Regions from separate parts of the Homo sapiens genome. Here regions 2 and 3 are each linked to region 1. The links are contacts of gene promoters, found by promoter capture Hi-C in human tissues and cell types (Jung and others, 2019). All regions are on one chromosome and are shown on one strand. Each heading gives the region's core, a stretch centred on a gene start or on the middle of the fragment in contact. The rest is flanking DNA. Distances are from core to core; before and after follow the strand shown.

What was found. Contacts are between HindIII fragments. The study calls those that stand out against the background at their distance.
Region 2: a fragment that was not itself captured here is called in contact with the fragment with the promoter of UFL1 in region 1 in 2 of the 25 tissues and cell types used here (dorsolateral prefrontal cortex and hippocampus).
Region 3: a fragment that was not itself captured here is called in contact with the fragment with the promoter of UFL1 in region 1 in 2 of the 25 tissues and cell types used here (dorsolateral prefrontal cortex and hippocampus).

What each region holds. Positions count from the first base shown.
Region 1 is chr6:96,520,541-96,523,078 of GRCh38, reverse strand. It overlaps UFL1 (UFM1 specific ligase 1), which reads right to left and starts at 1,273. Exons shown (of 19, transcript NM_015323.5): 1 at 1,129-1,273. The coding sequence starts at 1,205. It overlaps UFL1-AS1 (UFL1 antisense RNA 1), which reads left to right and starts at 1,365. Exons shown (of 4, transcript XR_007059687.1): 1 at 1,365-2,538. RefSeq lists enhancers at 1-812, 1,479-1,668, 813-1,684, 1,685-2,538. The HindIII fragment of the contact is 7,421 bases long and covers 1-2,538 here.
Region 2 is chr6:96,009,348-96,011,885 of GRCh38, reverse strand. The region is part of intron 1 of LOC107986626 (a long non-coding RNA gene); the gene reads left to right. Among named protein-coding and RNA genes, the nearest start is that of FUT9, 5.4 kb to the left of the region's middle. The HindIII fragment of the contact is 8,220 bases long and covers 1-2,538 here.
Region 3 is chr6:96,147,707-96,150,244 of GRCh38, reverse strand. All of the region lies in intron 2 of FUT9 (fucosyltransferase 9), which reads right to left. Among named protein-coding and RNA genes, the nearest start is that of FUT9, 130 kb to the right of the region's middle. The HindIII fragment of the contact is 3,489 bases long and covers 1-2,538 here.

The DNA.
Region 1 (2,538 bases), core at 24-2,523:
AATGTATGAAAACAGGCTTTTAAAAAGTTTGTTTAGTCACTAACTTCTACATCACAATATCTGTATTTTTCACTAACTGATTCAATAAGTTAAAAAAAAACCTTTCAGAGTAAGTAGGTTTACATATGCTTAAATCATTTATTTAATTGGTACACATCATCCCATCACAAATTTCAAGTCTGTTGTCTCTTACAGGCCTGCTTCCAATCTTCAAATCTGAAGGGAAAATTGAAGACATTTATTTAGGTAGGAAAAAAGAAAAAACAAAACAAAACAAAACAAAAAATGCCCTAATTTCCAGTTTAATCAGAATTTTCTTTTAAATTAAGTGCATAATTGCCTCACTTACACACATGGTCTGCAAGCAGGCAGGGGATGTGGCCTAGTGAAACCATAACTTTTACCCACGTTAGTTACCCATGCAGTTACGAGTTTGCTATCAGTGGTAGAAAATACAGCATAAGGGGATTGCTGTCTTCCGGCTCAAAAGGAATAAAACATCGCAGGTAGGAAGTAGTCAAAGAATAGAAAGGCTTCTATTAGCGTTATTTTTAAAAAGCAGAGTTAGGCTCCTCTGGACACATCCTCCAAAGGTTAGTGGGCTTGTAGAAAATGTCAGTGCCCTGAATAACAGATGGGGTCAGGGGTCTAGCCCTAGGTCTGTTACGAGAGATAAAAGGGCAAGAAGTTTTAAGGATCAACATACTATTTGCCAAGTACTGTACTGGGGGCGGGGGTTAGCCTCTCCTTTCGAGCTCATTCTAGATCAGGAAGTGTATAATAGCCAAGATGTCACAGTGATTTGGTGGTTGGTGGGTGAGGGAGGGTCAAAGAAATGCTCAATAAAGGCAGCTCGAAATCACCGGCCCCGTCCATGGTGGGGCGGGGCGCGCCAGCATTTCGCTGCAGCTGGGCTGGGGGGCTCCAGGGCGTCCTAGGCTGAGGACTTTCCCGCCGAGCCTTGGACTTGGAACTGCGATCCAGGCTCGGGACAGAGGGAGGAGGAGAGAATGGTGACAAGCAGCGAGAAGACCCGGGATGCAGGGCCGCGGGTCTAAAGTCCCAGATACAGGCGTGTCCGCCCACGGCCTAATTTGGGCTCCACAAAGGAGAGGGAGGGTCGGGCACCTCTGCGTGGCCTCGGCGAACTGCGCCCGCTGGAAGTCGGCCGCCAACCGCCTAATCTCTTCCCAGGCGTCCGCCATCACGGCCTGACTCGCAGTAGACGCGGAGGAACTGCAGACACGTCAGCCGACAGGCGGTGGGAGAAGAGAGGCGGAACGGGCCGCGCAGAGGGACAAGAGGCTCCGCCCCCGACGCAGACACACCAAACGCTTGCGCCCGAGGCGCGGGGGGCGGGCGGAAGTGCCGTGGTTGTACCGCGGCGCTGGGGGTTCCTCCCGGCGAGACTGGCGGGGCTGCGGCGGCTAGGAGAGTGGTGCGTAGGTGTTTCTGGGGGGGTCGTGGGCAGGATGCAGGGCTCAGTAAAGTTTAGTGTCAGAACTTTGTTTGCGCTACCCCTAATATTTCCGTAGAGTAATAGTTGTATTAACTACTTTTCTTTTTTCTTCTGTCCTCCATTTGTTTTGGGGGAGGGTGCGGAGGAATAAGCCTGTGTCTAAGATTGGCGCCTCTCTTCTCTAGCTGTTAACTCTGAGCATTCCCTTTTGTATAGGGTATCGTGTTAATTTTTACATGCACCCAGAGCAGTCTGCCTTTTGGAAGATACATGGGAGACCCTACCGAAAGTAATTACTTTTTTTTTACAGAGTGAATAAATTTGCGTGTCATAAAGGCTGTATAATTGCTTTCGTGTCTAGAGTTCTAGAGTCTTTCGTATTTCTCTTATTGCAATGATTAACTTCATCAAATAATGAGGAATATAAACATAAGGTGCATGGCTATCAAGGAAACAGGGAAAGCAAAGAGAACATGTATCCTGCTTCCCTGTTGAGTAGATATTTACTCAGGTGTACCTTTCTTTTTTATATCTTTTTTATATCTTATGAATTGAAAATAAATCATGGGACCCCCAAATCACTAAGCTAAAGGGAAAAGTCATACTGGGAACTGCTTAGGGAATCCTGCCTCCCATTCTATTCAAAGTCACCCCTCTGCTCACTGAGATAAATGCATGTCTGATTGCCTCATTTGGAGAGGCTCATAAGAGAATGCAACTGTCTGTTATCTACCTATGACTTGGAACTTCCTCCCCACTTGGAGTTGCCCCGCTTTTCCAGATCAGACCAATGTTTATCTTACATATATTGATTGCTGCCCCATGTCTCCCTAAAATGTGTAAAACCAAGCTGTGCCCCAGCCACCTTGGGCGCATGTTGTCAGGATCTGTGCCATGTCATGGATGCAAGTTCTTAACTTTGGCTAAATAAACTTTCTGAGTTGATTGTGACCTGTCTCAGATATTTGGAGTTCATGTATCTCACTCTTTACTATTTAAAAAATATTATTCCAGTTAGAAAGAATGAATAATATCAAGTATTTGATAGCACAGCAGGGTGACTAGTTGTCAGAGGCGTT
Region 2 (2,538 bases), core at 26-2,525, 510 kb after region 1:
TACAAGGTACAAATGCAAGAACTTGGGAAGGGATGATGAGAGACAATAGGAGCTGGTGACACATAGCTGGGGGAACTCAGAAAAGAAGTGAGGAAAAAAAATACCTTCACGAATTAAGACTATAAATGGAAGAATTACAAGATAAAATGGACACTGAGATAGACACAGCAAGGAAAAGAAGAGACAGAAATAAGGAAGGCTAACAAAATGAAATGCAAGTAAAGAAAAAATAGACAGGATTAGAGAGAATACAAAAGATGGAGAAGATAGGGAATGGTAATCCAATAGATACATAATTAGAGAAAAGAAATAAGTGATGGGAAAATAAATATGTCAATATATTATTAAAGAAAGAAACATTCTTCAAATGAAAGATGACTTGATATTTCACTTTGAAAAGAAACAATGATTACCAGGAAAAATTGCCCCAGAATCATTGACATTGAGATGTGTCCTAGTACAGTAACTAGAATTTAAATTTAAAAAAGAATTTTTTTAGGCATGCAGGCAAAGCAATCAGTAGCTTATAAAGAAAAATACTGATACTGGCCTCAGAAGTCTTCACTGCAACTTTAGTGGAATCGAGCCATTCAATATCAGTGCAACAAAGCTTACAAGAAACCAAAGAAAATAAAATAAAACTAAGGTTTTCTTTTTCTTTTTAGCTAAATGGTTTTTCAAGTACAATGGGAATAGACAAACAATGGTGAAGATGCAAGAACTCAGGGACTATTATTCTTATGAAACCACCTTCAGGAAATCACTAGAATAATGAATGAAATTCAGCTTTCTAATAAATAAATAAAAGAGACATGCTGAATCAAGGACTGATTTTCAAGTTAATACATTCAGTGTATTTATCTACTGATCTACAATGTTAGAATATGAGAATTAAAGCAGTATAATGCAATATAAACCTTATAGGAAAAATAGACTCTGACAATATAAAAATGATATGAGATATAATGGCATCAATTGTCTAATGGCTGAGAGTCCAACAAAACCACTTAAAAGAACAAATAAGTAGCATGACATTTAGCAACACAAAGATGAAATTTAATCCAAATTATTTGATAAATTATCTAGTCAAGCAGGAAGGCATGGAGGAATAAGAAACACTAATTTTTATCATTACCTACTTTAACAAACTAACAGAAACATTTCTTACTTTAACTAAAATATAGAGCAATGCAGATAAATAATTACAAAAGTAACACAGAACAAAATGAAAATCTTTGTAAATATTAAGAATACATATATACGCTGGGCGTGGTAGCTAACACCTGTAATTCTAGCACTTTTGGAGGCTGAGGCGGGCAGATCGTTTGAGCCCAGGAGTTTGAGACTAGCCTGGTGACATGGTGAAGCCCTAACTCTACAAAAAAACACAAAAATTAGCCGTGCGTGGTGGCACACTCCTGTAGTCCCAGCTACTTCGAGGGGCTGAGGCAGGAGGATAGCTTGAGCCTGGGAGATTAAGGCTGCAGTGAGCCATGATTCACTTAACTTCAACCTGAGTGACAAAGCAAGACCTTGTCTCAAACACACACACACACACACACACACACACACACAGAAAAAATAAAACAGAACACAAAATGAAGGAGTTTTACAAAATAACAAGTGAAAACATAACACAATATGTCAGAACCAAAAGTAAGTATTTCCATTATATCAATAAATGTAAATAATCTCCTGTTTTATAGACAAAAATAAAGATTTTTATACTTTATCACTGAAAATAGAGTTCTGTGTTTTATATCTACCGCAAGAAAACTCAGAACACTTAAAAAATAAAAAGATGAACAAACATTTATCAGGGAAATGGAAACAAAGAGTAAGCAGGCGTTGCAATCTTAGTCAGAGATAAGGTGGCATAAAGCCTAAAACATGTTAAACAAGATAAAGAAGGATATTTTAAGGTGATCACAGAACAGACACCTTGCTATGAAAACAAAGCAATTATGAACATCTGTGTAGAAGATTATATATCACCAGCATTCCTACAGCAGCAATTATAAGATATTCAAGGAGCTAGCATGAAGCCCACCATTGATAAGTCTTAATACTTTATAAAATATAAGTAAAGTTTTGAATATTAAATGTCAATACACTTTTCAGGCCAATCTCACTTAACAGCGTCAGTGCAAAAATCCTAATTAAAATATTAACAAATGAACCTCAATAGCACATTACTGTATCAACACTAAGTGTATTTTTCTTTTTTTCCAAAAAGGTAGGAATGTTACTGTATTAGAAAATCTATTAACATACTTAGTCACTTCCCTTATCTATAAAATGGAAGTGCAATATTAGTATCTACTTTATAGGATCATTTTTTCAATGATTAAAAGAGTCATTGCATACCAAATCTTTAGGAAGAATGCCTGGCATAGAGTGAGTCTTTCATAAATGTTATCTGTTGTGTTTATCAGCATTCATAAGATGACTATGCTTGTGATAGTAATATAAGTCTTCTTATCATTTTCTTAAATAATAAACTTCTTATGTTAATTTATTAATATTGTATTCTCATCT
Region 3 (2,538 bases), core at 14-2,513, 370 kb after region 1:
TCACTCCTTCATTCTGAATTCTAATGTCATTTTACCTGAAACAGACACCATTTAGTATAGCACACCAGTATAACACCATACTACTGACACCATTTTCTCTTTTTGTATTCTATTCTTGGACATGACTTATCCGTCCTAAGAGAATCAAGACCCAGGTAGGCAGAGTTTATCTTTTGCTCTAGAAGTATAATTATTACAAATTATAGAGAATAGAATGATGGTTACCACAGGCTGGGAAGGGTAATGGAGAAGGGGGGTAAAGAGGGGAGGGTTAATGAGTATGAAAATACAATTAGATAGAGTAAAATCTAGTGTTTGGTGGCACAATAGGGTGACTATAGTTAACAATAACTTATTGTATATTTCAAAATAACTAAAAGAGTGGAATTGAAATGTTCCTAACACAAAGAAATGATAAAAGCTTAAGGTGATGGATACCTCAATTACCCTGATTTGATCATTACACACTGTATACTGTATCCAAACATCACATATACATAAATATGTACAACTATTATATATCTACAATAATTATAAATAAAACAATTTTTAAAAATTCAGGCAAAGAAATGCTTGCTTTTGATGGAATGCACAGATATATTTTTTCTCACAGTGTTCATGCTTCAATAAGGTTTATTCTCAGCTCTGCTGACAATTACAAATAATTGAGTTTTGTTTGATGCTGATAATATACACACTCCTGATCTAAGGCAATGGGAGTTCTGTGATTTAGTGAAATTGCAGTACTTCTCTAGAAGGGTTATACTGAGAAAACATTTGTTTCAGGTTTTAAAATTATTCACTCATTTGGGCTAAAAGGGATGGAGGAATGAATTTTAAGTTAATATTTTCATTTTATCCCCATAATGTTCCATTGTAGTTTCTAATAGAGACTTTTTTTTTTGTCTGCCTTAAACTTGGTTACATGTCATCTAAATTAGTAATCATGTTCTTCATTTAAAAAAAATGCTCTCTGGTGATAGAAGAATTAAATTTAATTCAACAAAATTGCATGGAATACTGACTCTGTACATAATAAAAGCAGTCTATTATTTTCAAGTAGTTCAAAAAAAATTTTTTTTTTTTTGGAGTCTCACTGTGTTGCCCAGGCTGCGGTACAGTGGCAGAATCTTGGCTCACGGCTCACTGCAACCTCCACTTCCCGAGTTCAAGCAGTTCTCCTGCCTCAGCCTCCTGAGTAGCTGGGATTACAGGCACATGGCACCACACCTGGCTAATTTTTGTATTTTTAGTTAGAGACAAGGTTTCACCATATTGGCCAAGCTGGTCTCGAACTCCTGACCTCAGGTGATCTGCCCACCTCTGCCTCCCAAAGTGCTGGGATTGCAAATGTGAACCACTGTGCCTGGCCTCAAGTAGTTAAAAGTCTAACAGCCCACATTTTAAGCCAGGGTCACATAAGACTAGTTAGAGAACATTTTGCTGGGATTTCTGCGCATGTACAGACTCAGAATAAAGGCAATACATTTGGTTAAATGTTCATGTATCTACACTACTATAGGAGTGGCCACTTTTTAAAAATTTTACTGTCTTTTCAACCCTATTACAAAATACATACTCTCTGGAGTAATATAAACCTCAGGCAGTACAAAATTGTTACAACTTGGGCTTCTCCAGGGCCACTCCAGGCTTTGGAACATTTAAGTGTTTTGATAGGGTCAATGAAAGTATCAAGAACTCAGGAATCAATAGCCTTCAGAGCCCATTTCCACAGCTCGACTGATTATACCATGTAATTTTTACTGAAAGCGAAACTGTAAATTTGAAAAAGCCAGCAATCTGAATCTGTTTTGATGCATTACAGAGTACTCCCTCATTTTAATTATCCACCTTAATGGAGAAACTTGCTTGATGATTAAATTCCCCAGAGCTACGTGGAGCTGTTAGAATCAAATAGTTGTGGAGATAGGAGGGACTTTGGCAATCTTTCTAGACCCAATTTCCTATTCTGTAGGTTGGAATCTGAGACCCTGAGTGCTAATTACTCAAGATCATTTAATCAGCTAGAACTTAGATTTTTACATTCCAAGCTTAGTGATAAGTCTATTGCACTAAACTGTTGGAAAGACTTTTAGTCACCATCAGCTTTGTGAGATATTTGGTGTGTTAGAAAGCGTTTTTAAGGAAGGACTGGACTTCAATTAATTGCACATGGGCTGCCCAGTTTCAATATTTTTTTTTTCTTTCCAACATAAAAGTTGCTTTTAAAGTCTTTGCTTTGTAGTGTTTCTAAAACTAATTTTCGCTTCGGTACTCTTTATCCCATGTTCGGTGGTTCTTTTACCTTTATCTCTGATGCAGAAACATATCAAATGCACTTTTTTTTCTGAAATATTAACTATATCGTAGTCCCAGATCATCTTTTATCTAGTGTGGCTGTGATATATTCAAAGAACTCCTGCAGATTATTTATGCAAGCCTGAATCCGTCATGGCTGGATGTCATCAACTGATGTGTTAGCACTCTGTATGAGATTTTTTGAAAAACTCCTAGGGTCTTCATCATTCAATTAGCACA